Regions from separate parts of the Homo sapiens genome. Here region 2 is linked to region 1. Evidence: promoter capture Hi-C in human tissues and cell types (Jung and others, 2019). All regions are on one chromosome and are shown on one strand. The core of a region is centred on a gene start or on the middle of the fragment in contact, and the rest is flanking DNA. Distances in the headings are between cores, read along the strand shown. Region 1 holds the start of FIBIN (fin bud initiation factor homolog). Region 2 has its middle 45 kb from the start of FIBIN.

What was found. Contacts are between HindIII fragments. The study calls those that stand out against the background at their distance.
Region 2: a contact is called between a fragment that was not itself captured here and the fragment with the promoter of FIBIN in region 1, in 1 of the 25 tissues and cell types used here (IMR-90 fibroblasts).

What each region holds. Positions count from the first base shown.
Region 1 is chr11:26,990,863-26,997,351 of GRCh38, reverse strand. FIBIN (fin bud initiation factor homolog) reads right to left here and starts at 3,240. Exons shown (of 1, transcript NM_203371.2): 1 at 265-3,240. The coding sequence starts at 2,825. The coding sequence ends at 2,190. LOC124902650 (a long non-coding RNA gene) reads left to right here and starts at 3,241. Exons shown (of 2, transcript XR_007062630.1): 1 at 3,241-3,369; 2 at 4,990-5,453. The HindIII fragment of the contact is 11,169 bases long and covers 1-6,489 here.
Region 2 is chr11:26,946,448-26,952,583 of GRCh38, reverse strand. No RefSeq gene overlaps it. Among named protein-coding and RNA genes, the nearest start is that of FIBIN, 45 kb to the left of the region's middle. RefSeq lists an enhancer at 2,285-2,785. The HindIII fragment of the contact is 4,464 bases long and covers 1-4,326 here.

The DNA of each region.
Region 1 (6,489 bases), core at 1,991-4,490:
TAATTAGGGATGACACTCTTCACTTCTGTGTCTTTTGAATCCTTGATAACATAATATGGTATGGAAGCATTACCAATAGATTGAAATTAGCATGCACAGGGAAAACAGTTTTCCATCACTATCACATGCCCAATATCCTCCCATTACAGCTGGGAAAATCAAGGAGATGACATTTGTAAGTCTATGAATTACCAAATGATCACTATGAAGTGAGTGATATAAATGTTTTGAGGCATGAATGATTGTGACTTCAAACTACAAACATTTTAGTACCAAATATGATTTTATTTGCCACTGTTGTTATTTTTTCCTCATTTTTTCAGAATAAAGAAGGAAACTACTTTAAGTGATCATTAATCTTCTTTCTACACACAAGTCTAGAAAGCAACAAAAAGTGGGGCCCTGAGTAACAAAAAGAAGTTATAATTGATTTTAAGTACAGTAAGTTAAGCAAAATTTCAGGCATTCGACCACTCTCTCTCATTTTTCAGTATCCTTAAAAAAATTAGTTCGGGAAGTCCCGTGTTTAAATTTAAGAAGACCAGGGGCTGTTATAACTGATGGAGGATAAGTCATTTAGCCTTTCCCAGCCTCAGTTTCCCCTTCTGTAATAGAAAGATATTAGACAGTTCATAGGAATGGAAAACTTATTTTCTTATTCAAGGGAGAGGAGAAAATAAATGTCTGTTGAACAGAAGAATATGAACATTTATTTATTTTCGTGTGTGTGTGTGTGTGTATCTGTGCATATATGCAACAAGAAAGCATATTTAAGGTGAGAGTAAGAATTAGCTAGGGAAAGACATTAAATAAAGTGCATCTCCACCTTTTGAAGCCATTAATTAAATAATGTAGACCTGGCTTCAAAATTAAACATCACTGTAGTTTATAACTTAGGATGGAATGCTTGCTCTGCATAAGGGTACAGGGTATGAGCCTTGTCAGAAACTTTTGCAATTGAATTTATGAGAGAAACTGGAGAAAATTTGAGTCTTTAAGCAGACCTATAGAGATCAAATTTAAAGTTTGGGCAATGGCTAGATTTGTTTTCTTGTGAGGATGTCAGGGTGACTACAGAGAGGAGAATTGCCAAATATGTAGCTATTCCTCTGCCTTCTTTATCATATACTCTAAGTAAACTGGCTTAAATCCAGTCCTTCTCTCTCCTTTTGCATTGGCCCCTTTTAGAAATATGAAAGTTACAGATGTAAATTACAAAGTAAGCCAGTATTACATGAAAACATGTTTATTGCCTGAATAATAAAACTTAGCTAAGGAGTTATTAGAATTAGGATTCCCCCTACTTGAAGTACAAGTTTCCAATAAACAGACAGACAGAAGCAAAACCCCAAATGAGAAAGAATACATTGGTAACCTAAATCATAGGCATTTGTGGGTATGTTCATACAATCTACCTATTTCTTTGTAATTTACTATAGCACTGATGACAAAGCATAGACATACAATGAGAAAGAGCAAATCAGCATATCAGTGTGACTGTGCAACCACTACAAAGCTTGGCCTTCTTAAATGTGGCCACTTTAACTTACACACACCCACAGAGGCATCAGAAATCTCCCTGCAAACACGATTTGCCTATAGTTTTGTGGCAATACTGTTACATAGAACAAAAACAACTCTCAGACCATGGTTAATAAATAAGAGAGAAAAGAAGTAAGAAACAACTTCCATGGGTTGGCAGGCATGCAAAGCAGCACCTTGAACCTCATTTGAAAAACAGGCAACTGGGATAGCTTTTGGAGCCCAGGAGTGAAGGCTAGAGGCTGAAAGGAGCTATGCACTATTATCTTTGGGTATTTCCACATAATCTGCAGGATGGGGAAGTTTAATTCCGCACCACATAAACTGTGCTCTTTTAGATGTGGCTGAAACGGGTGTCTCTGCAGAATTAGAAACCCATCTAGAAATGACATTGCTTAAAATTGTTCTTTCCAGGTGACAATTCCATAACAATCACATAAATAATGTACAAAAACAAAACTAAAAACAAAGTCACTCAAGTGTCCAATTTTTCTCTTTTGAAAGATGACCTTAGATGTATTCTCAAAGTGCAAATCGGGATATAAAAAAATAGTAGGTATGGGGGAAATGTAGCCCCATCTTCTGTCCCCCACCCTCCAAAACGGGGCTGATTTGATTCCCTCTTTCTAGCATTTGTATCCTTCCACCTATACTTTAAGATAATCATTTTTCAGCCGACCTAGTCGGGTCCCATGGCTCCTAATGGTGAGGGCCAGCAGCTCGTATTTGTCCCTGAGCCCCACAGAGATGTCCAGTGTCTCCTTCAGCAGGGACCTGGTGTGGACCAGCATTCCCAGAAAGTCCTCGTTGAGCCTGCTCTCCTGCCGGCTGTCCTGTTCCTGGCCCTGCTTGAACTTGCTCTCCAGCTCAGTGAGGGATTTGTCCGAGTTGGAGTAGGCATCCCCGATCTGGTGGGACTCCCGCCGCAGGTACTTGCCATAGCTCTCTTCCCCGTCTAGGTCGTAGGAGATGCTTTTGCTGATGCCCTCCAGCACGCGCCCAGCATCCTCCACCTGGCGGCCCAGCACGGTGAACTCCTCCCGCAGGGTGAGGCTCAGCAGGCTGCCAACCTGGCTCCCCTCCCCCTGGGAGCAGCGCCTGTGGTCACTCACCCTGAAGAGCAGCTGGCACTTCTCGGGGTCATCGTTCTCCTCATAGTCCCCATCGGGCACGAAGTAGTGGTGCAGAGTCCCATTGGACATCTCTGGGTAGAGGGGGCCATCGAAGTAGCCTTGACACAGGTGGCAGAAGAAACTCATGCAGAAGAACTTCAGAAACACCATTCTGGATATTCAGGATGGCCAGGGACCCCAGGAGGAGACTTTTTACCCAGGCACAAGGAAGGGAGTGTCTTTGCGAGTCAGCGTCTCCCTGAGACAGCGTCCGCCTCAGTCCCAGCTGGCTTGCTGCTCCCTGGCCCCCAGTCCCCAGCAGGCTTCATGTGGCTCTGCACACCAGCGTCTGGGTAGCGCGCCCGCCGCAGCGCAGGATGCACCCACCCTTGCGCCCCTCGCTCGGTGACTGGAACTCCTCCGGCACAGGCGTAGCGGGGAACCCCTCCTCCGGGGCCCTGGCAAGATGCTGGCTCTGTTGCCCTCCTCTCGGAGTTTCCCCTTGCTCCCGGGAGATGGAGTGTGTAGCTGGAGAGAAAGGCTCTTGCCCCCTGATAGTATTTCAATTTCTGGACTGGGTGGGAATGCGGAGCTTTTCCTTTGGCTAAAGATATCCTGAGGATCTCTCTGCTCTCAAATTACAGCTGGTTTCGTCACTTGGAAGCCAGGGAACAAGTTTGGAAAAGAACCTCTCACCAGGTCTCCACTATTAAAGGTACAGGGTCGCTTTTTAAAGGTTGGAAGGGAAGACTCTACAATAGAATTTAGCTCGAAAGAGAAAATGAGAAGAGAATAAATGGAATTTCCACCACAAAAACCCTGGTTTGTTATTGACATATTGGGAGGGGGAAGGAATGATTACCCTGGAAAAATGCCATTTCACGTGTCTCAATAAATATCAGGTTGGATTTTCTGAGTATATCTATTTTTATCTTTAAAACTTTGTGACTTTGAAGGCAAATTTAAAGTGTCAGAAATTACAGTTTTGTTTGAAAATGATTGGTTAATTAAAATTTATATCAACAATACTTTGGATGAAATGAAAATACAGAAAGTTGCTTAATGTATAGTCTTTAGTATGTATAAGAACAGAAGCAGAAAAATGAAATTTTGCCAGCTTAGTGAGTTAAAGGACAATGAGATCCTTATTTAATTTTATGAAACAATGCTAAGCATCTGCATTGAATCTTGAACCTAATGCTTTTATAGTTGTTGCCTCTTTTGAGAGTCTTGAAAGCTTTTGAAGAATGTTTCTGGTACTATTATGCCCATTTTCCAGATGGAGAAATGAAGGAGCAGAATGTTAAGCAAATTGATTATAGTCACACAGTTAGACTTTAGTTGAGCCAGAACTAATTGTCACAAGGTCTTTTAATTTAACTTGGGGGGAGAAAAACAATGTTTTTTTTTTTTTTTTTAACCTGGCCATTTTAATTTCTAATTTATGAACTTATTGGCAAATGGCCATCCTAAAGGCCATTCATTTGTTTAATGAATATTTCTTGAGCATTTACTGCATGCCAAAATCTATTTGAGGTAGTGGGAATACAGCTGTGAACAAAAATAAAGACAAATCCTTGCCTTCCTGGCACTTATATTTTGGGAAATAGAAAACTTAAATTTTTGAAAATAGGTCAGGCGTGGTGGCTCACGTCTGTAATTCCAGCACTTTGGGAGGCAGAGGTGGGTGGATCACTTGAGGTCAGAAGTTCGAGACCAGCCTGACCAACATGGTGAAACTCCATCTCTACTGAAAATACAAAAAAAAAAAAAAAAAATAGCTGGACATGGTGGTGCATGCCTGTAATCCCAGTTACTCAGGGGGCTAAGACAGGAGTATTGCTTGAATCCAGGAGAGGGAGGTTGCTGTGAGCCTAGATCGCACCACTGCAGTCCAGCCTGGGTGACAGAGTAAGACCTTTTCTCAAAAAAAGAAAAATATGTAAATAAATAAGATGTAAGTTGGACATCAATAGGGCTGTGGAAGAAAAGAAACAGAGGAAGCATGGGAAAGCAGAAGCAGGCAGCACTCCTGTTTCTATGGGTATTTTCTCCTTCTTCCTTGAAATGTAACTGAAACATTCATGTTGACTTGCCAGTGTTCCATACCTATCTCCCTCCCCAAGTAATAAGGGACTGGCTTCATTCAGACTCACAGTGCCACACTGTTCTGGGACAGTTATACTCATTGTCATCACTTTCATGGATATAAACAACCCAGACTCCTGCAGAGAAAATGAGAAGTCTGGTTAAGTAACTTGATATTTTGCTGATGTGGTATCACATGCATGGAGTTTCTGAAGCATGTTGACTGCACATTTTCATTCTTATCCAGATACTTAGCATCATGGAAACATAGACCAAAGGAGTTTTCTTACTGTTTATGCCAAGTGGAAGACCAAGGCCTATTTTCACTCTATCCCAGAAGAAAACTACAACTTCCTTCAGTTGAAAGACTGGACTGTTGGACTCAAGAGCTACATTGCTTCATTCCTTTTTCTCTGGGACATTCAGAAATGACAACAGATGGATTCATATTGGCTGCTTGGCCAAAGAAGCGAAGAGGAATTTACTCTGATTCATTCCATTTCTTGCACAATCTCTCTCTGACTTACTAACCAATTCAATTAAGCAAACCTATATTAAGCACTTACTACTTGCTCCCCACTTGCAGGGTGCAGTATTAAGGTAACTACAGACACAAAGATGTGCAATAAGAAGTTTCAGCCTACAAAGAGCTTGCTCCCTGGTTGAAGAGTCGGGCATATACCCATATAAAGTTATCATACGAAGGGTGAAGAGTGTGAAGAGTGTTTACTTTCTTCCTGCAAAGACCTCATCTAAAGATACACACTCCATATTGTGTATTAGAAAGGAATCATTTTTGTACAAATAACTAAAAGTCCACTTCAGTCTAACTAAGGGCATTAACTTACAGGAAGCCTAAGATTAGATATTCAGAGAAGGCCTAGTCCAACCTAGTTTTTCTCTCACTATTTCTTGGTTTATGTCCTCAGCTTATATTCATGCATGGGCAGTCTCTTTCGTTTGTGTTCTAAGATGATTACCAGTGTCTTCCAGAGCTTTGTGCTTCTTTATTCATATGTAACAGGAATGACAGATTGAATTTCCTGGTAGCTCAAATGCAGCTCCCTCAAATCAGCCTCAGTGGTCATGGGTGGCCTGATTTGGATCATGAATATGTCTTCAAACCAGGCTTACTGTAGTGAGATTTGGGATTAAACCACTTTGCTTAAGACAATAAGGGCCCCATTCTGTAGCTGAAGGCAAGGTATCAAGCAAACTATATGGCTGGGTTATTTAGTGTTCTGTTAAGGAAAGGAACAGTATGGGAGTACATTCTGGGGAAGTAACCATGAATAATTCCCCTACCTTATGGTTTTGTCTTCATTAACCACATCGAAGAGAAACTGCCACCCTTGCTGATAAGTGTTGATCAGTTGGGTATATGGAGGAAAACACCCTGATTTGTAGTATTTGTTGATTTCCTTAGTCTAAATACTCTCACAATGGCTAATGTCATTGAACTCAAAGTTGGGAAGACATGCACAGTGGTATACCATTATATAATCATCATACAGATACATTAGATGCAAATAACCCCAAGAGAATAGAAAATAGTAAAAATCTAGTAAAATAATTAAGAAGTGATTAGTTTTGCGTATATATTCCCTTTATTTTAACATAGCTTAGTTAAAAGTTTAGTTTATTTATTTATTTATTTAATTTATTTTTTATGTATTTATTTTGAGACATGGCCTTGCTGTGTTGCCTAGGCTGGAGTGCAGTAGCAAGATCACAGCTCACTGCAGCC
Region 2 (6,136 bases), core at 845-3,344, 44 kb after region 1:
CAGTTTGATACGTGGTCTATCCTCAGATTTTGACTTCCTTAGAAAAATAACCTCTTTCTTTCACATGGACAGAAGGGGACGAAAAATGATAGTCACTGCTAATTTTTTTAAAAAAATGTACTAAGTGCTGGGATCTGTTTCAAGCACTTAGCATACATTATTTCATTTACTCCAAGTAACAGCTGTATAAGGAATGAGCTACTATCATCTCTATTTACAGATGAGGAAATGGAGATTTAGCATGGTGAAGTAACTTATCTAAGGGTCACATCTCTAAATTAGGTATTTGAACCAACATTAAAAACCAGAGCAGTCTGATTCCAGAGCCTACAGTCTCAACCCCAAAAAGAGGAAAGTGTTAGATTATAACTCAAGGCGAAACATTTCTGTTAGGGTGGAAAAATAAAAAAAGTAAATTGCAGCAAGATGTGTCTTTTCAAAATTAAAATATAGTTTAAGCAGTTAAAGATTTTTTGCTGCGAGGCATTACAGACCACTGATAAATGTGTGCTGTCTCAGGCGGAGATTGGAAACAATGCAGCGGTAGCTTTTAGCCATCAGCCTGCGGTTTGCTGCAGCTGTGATTTTCCATGGATGCAGTTTTGGGCTATCTTGTCACTGGCTTTTTGGTGCCAGAGGCTTCAGAATGCTGAAGTTTTTCTCCTTTTTTATTTTTATTTTCTGCAGACTTGACTATGCCTGTATCACCTAAAATTATTACCAGTCATGAGCCCTTTGTCATACTAATGTCTTGCTCCCAGTGCTATTTTTTCTTATTTTAATTTCCTTGTTGTTCCCCAATGTGATTTTTACTCTGAGGCGGGGAAAAAAAACAGTCTGTCTTTTGATGACTTTGTTAGTTTTTCATTGGAAGAAACCTGCAAAAATGCTTTTCAAAACATTTTAAATGGCAGCAAACAGTCTGGGAGGTGTTTAAATGTAATGGAAAAATAAAGGATTCATGAGGAAAGGATTTTCAGAGAACGTGGACAGAAAAAAAGTAAAAGCTGTTTAAAACACAACTTTATCTACCAAAATGACCCATCTAGTGTCTTTACATGTGGCTTTTCTTTCACAGGTGCTCAGGCTCCAAAATTTTGAGTTCAGAACAACAGGCAAATGCAGAATATTTGAGGCAGCAGAGCAGAGCACTGGCTTTAGCAGGCAGTCAATTATTGACATTTACTAGCTGGGAACCTTGGGCAAGGTTCTGTGATTTACCTCTGCCGGTCTCAGTTTTCTCTTTTGTGAATTGACAATAATGATAATAATTAACTCATAGTTGTTATGAAGACTAAATTTTATATATATATATATATATATATATCTGGCTATTTGCCAAGTGCTTGGTACATATTAAAAGCTGAATACTGGTGGATATTTCCATTATTTTATAAGTATCTTTTCTTCTCCTGCATTGATGTTAAAATGACATCAGTAAAAGTGTGTTGGTATTGATTCTGGAAAACTTCTGGCTTCATCTAGTTCAATCTTCACCAGAGCAAAGAATCCTGCTTTTCTCCCAGAGAAATCCACAATGTACTCATTAGTGCCATCCGTGGGCACCTTACTTTCTCTCCTGATTGTTGGAAAACTGGCTCAGACTCTTAGAAAGTTCCTATTCTCAGTACTGGTTTCTAGTAATTTCTACTCATTGGCCTCAGTTCTGTTCCCTGGGGCCACCTAGGAGGGATTTGGTCTCTTTTCCACATGCCCCAAATAAGTGAAAGTATCTGAACAAGTTACTTAACTACTCTGGGCCTGGGTTTACTCATATGTAAAGTGCAGACTAGTGTTTCGCCCTCATGGTGGTATCCTGAGGATTAAAAATATATAGACGTCTGAAGATAGCCTAGCTATAGCAGGTGCTCAATAAGGTGCTCAATAGCAGTCGCTGTAATGTGCTGGCCTTAGTTTAAGAGCCTCTGCAGATTCTGTGAGTGTTTGTCTATGTGGCTGATGACTCTCAATGAAGATTGCCCAATGTCAAATGTTTTCCTGCAGGCCACAGAAGGGATGTTTGGATTTCGATTAATCCACATGGCAGCTCTCCATGGTGGGGGCTGTGTCTTTTTGGTACTCTATTACTTGGCCAAACAGCCCCACTGTGAGGAAGTTTCTTGCTGCCTTGTGTCGCTGGCTTTCATGACCTGGCGGTGGCTTGCCTCACTTTGTACTTCCCATGCCAGTGCTTCCCTGTTGCCCCTGAGGCTCAACAGACCTTGAGAGGTGCCCACATTGGTGCCTTGGTTTACTCAGCCAGGCCAGCAAGACTGCCAGTTGCAGGCTGCAGATGAGGCTCACGGGCACCTATGGGCTCACCCCTCATGCCGTGACTTGTGCCGTGGATGTCACTGCTGCTGCCTCAGGTTCTGGCTTCCCCAGGTGGAAAGGTGCAATTCTGAGATGAGGTGGACTCAATATCCTGTGAACACTTTGAGTAACAGGAGCTCAGAGCTGGGCTTTCTTTTTGCTCCCTGACAGCTCTAGAGTGCAGTAGTTTCAGGCAGTTCTCTCAAGATGCCCTGTGGGACTGAGCATTCAGCAGTGCTTGCTATGAGCATGCTATTGAGCCTTTCCATGACTCATTCCTCCCTTTATTTTACTTCTGTTTTCAGGGATTTCAGTCTCAATAATTTGGGGGGCGTTAGCATATAGCCTTTGTCTCAATCTCTGTGTTCTTGGGAATTCTGGTAAAGATGGGTAACTAGTATTACTATTGCCACTGCTCTTCCTCTTACTCAGATTTCATTTCTTTGGGTTCACCAACCATTGCTTTCATGGCTGATTATCAGCTCTTCACTCCCCTACTCACAAAACAAAGCTTATTTCTCTATTTTGTGAGTCAACATCTTTGGCCCAGTACTTCCCTTCTTTTATTGCCACTGCCAGAGTTTCTCCCTTAATTCTTACTATTTGCTTTCAGATCTCATCTGGTAATTTGATCTAAGGTAATATGACAACAAGTGCAAGTGACTTGACACATCACCTATTGGAGATACTATATTTGAATATTCATAGAAGTTTTCTGAAAAAAGAGCCCCAACTTAACTAGAAACCATGGGTTGGCAAACTTTTCTTGCAAAAGGCTAGGGATTAGGGGATTAAGTATTTTAGGCATTGCCAGCCATGGCCATAAGATCTCTGTTGCAGCTATTGAACTTTACAGGTGTATTGTGAAAGAAGTCATAGCAAATATGTAAATGAATGTGCACAGTGAGTTTCAGTAAACTTCATTTGCAAAAACAAGTGTTTGACCAGATTTGGCCCATAGGTTTTGACTACAGACACTTGCTCTAAACAACGGAATTACAAAAAAAAAAGTGAAGTAGAATTTTGGGAAAATGTGGGTTATTCAATATCTTTCAAATTCAGTTTCCTTAGTTTCAATTCATTTTTAATTCAATAAATGATATTGAGAAGAAAAGGTAACAAACACTTATAGAATTCCCCAATGAACCATATTCTAGGCTAGGGATTTCCATATGACACATCATTTGCTGCTCCTAGCAACCCTATAAAGTCACTGTTGTTATTCTACTTTTTGATGAGATGAATAAGCAGGTCCAGAGATAAGTGAATTGTCTCCTTGTAAAAGGCAGTGTCAAGATTCAAAAATAAGCTTACTTTAACTTGAAGATCTATATTAAAGTATTCTAATTAAGTACATACTGTATGTAAAGTTTTGTACCACTGGCTGCATAGAATACAGAGATGAATGAGATAGTTTCATTTTAGTTAGAAGCAAAATAAAATATCAGCAAAATAAAATAAGACAGGCTCTGATATCCCAACAGAACTACAAAGTACTAAGGGAGTTTAAAGGAGCTGCCTATCAGGCATGTGGGAAGCAGGAAAATCCCATAGAAAGGGTGACAATTAAGGTGGTATTTGAAGAACTAATATGATTTTGAAAGCTAGAGATAAGGAAAAAGGTTGTTTTAAGCGAAGAAAGAAAGAAAAAAAGGAACAGGAAGAAATAGTGCCTACTGAGGAAGTGTGGGTCATCAAAGAGAAGGCTTGCCTTCATAATTGGCCAAAGGCTTTGCTCAGCCCTATCCCTAAAGGCACCCTCTGAGTCTAGCTCTGTCCTGGGACTGACCATTAGTTAAGTGAAGTCATCCTTGTCTAATCTTCTCCTAGAAGGGTGTTTCATTGTGCATGATGGATGCAAAAACAGAATTCTCATCAGTAAAAACAAAAGCACACAGAATGGGAACTAATGAGTCAGAAGTTGAGTAGATATTGGATGAAGGGAAGGCAGAAAATTGTCACAGGTAGTACCAAAGCGGGAGGGCCTAAGATAATGTTCTAATTTAAAAAATGGAAGTTGAAGGCTCATTTTTAGTAGATTCTGGTTTTACTGGATTCTGCAACATAATGACCAACACTTTGCACACATGCAGAACAGCCTAAAGCTATAAAAACTATGACATGACTAAATTCATTGGTCAGCTGTCTTTTGCAATATTTATGACAATTGCAATTTAAATTCTTACTTGAGCAATCATATTTTCCCTGGACTATGAGGACAAATAAGGGCAGGAAATTTGTCTGTCCCGTTCCATGCTGTCCTTGAATTTGGCACATTGCCTTATACATTGTATGTGCTCAATAAATATTTGTCCATTGATTACTTGAATACATGGTTGGATTCAACCAGGTTACTCTACAAGTAGAGAGCTAGAGTCTGAATTTTGTAGTAACTTGTACAACCTTTCTCAGCAGAAGCAGCCTCTTTCATGGAAGTATTCCTGTAATTCACTGGAGCTTCCCACATGCTCCTCCCCGTCTTTGAAGGCTCATAGCCAGAAGGAAGTGCTCAACCACCTAGTGTAACCAAGTCTTGCATCATTCACATAGAGAGGGAGATTTTCCAAGTTCTTATTGCGGTGGAAAGATGAGGTCAAACTGTAAGGGGTCAGCAGTGCTCTTAACACTGCCTTTGTGTTGTTTTCATATAAATATTTTTACTAGGACATTTTTTGGCAAACAAGTCTAGCTCCCAGGACTGTGGAGAGCAGGGAAGCTTTGCTCACCACATGCCCATGGTATGCACTTGAGTCAACTTAGGGCCAGTGCAATTTGAAATCATGTCCTTTTTCACTTTTGTCTTGATGCCTTCTCACTGACTCAGTGTCTATCCTTTATCCTTTCTCCAAATGAGAAACATCTGGGCTAAAGTGAAGTCCATGTCCCAATTCCCCACCTCCTTCTCCTACCAAGAAAGCAGCAGCTGTTTCTGACACACTAATCCTATTACAGATGTTTTGATAATTACCAAAAAGCTCAATTTGGCAGCTTATTGGTGGAGCAGCTAAACCAGATTCACACATTTAAACATCTTCTGCCATTCACCTAAGGTAGTTCTCTTCAAAGATCTATTATATAATTTGGTTGGAGAAACTCTGAGAGGGTGCTTCTTTACTGAAATAGGTAAGTTTCTTAAAGCAAATGTAAACAATAACCTTTGATGCTTCCGCAGAGAGTGTGGTTGGTTCATCTCTCTGTTTCTCCCACTTTGCAAAGCCTAATCCATAATGTTGCCAATGACTATTGGAGGAGCAAATGGATAAATCCAACGCCATACATTGCACTTTTCCTTTTGCCATGTTTCTTTGTTCAAAATGCATTTGACCCATGTCTTTGTGCCAAAGAGCAAACCAACATAGTATTTGATAATAAGATCTTGTGATAATAAAAATGCCTTACATATTAAAGAGCTTTGCGTATTGTTGTTTTTGTCCCCAAGTACTTTCTTATCCACAACCTTATTTCATTTGTAATATCCTATAAGATAAACATAATGCATTATTTTCATTTATTGGTTATTTTCTCTCCCTTAGCTCTTGTATCCAACATAAATCAAGGCCATTGATTATAACTCTGCAATGGTCTTTGAGTCAGTTCTCTACACATTCCTACAGCATTACTAGCTTTACGGAGGCTGCCATTTTCTCTCATATAGTCCCCAGCAATTTTTTCCTAGCTGGTCTCCTAAGCTTCTGATTCTTCTGTTCACAATATTATCATTATCTTTCCAAAGCAAGGAATTGATCCTGCCCCTCTCTTTTTTCTGCTATGCTAATGACTCATCACTGCTTTCCTAGGTCAAGTCTGAATCATTTAGTGTCAT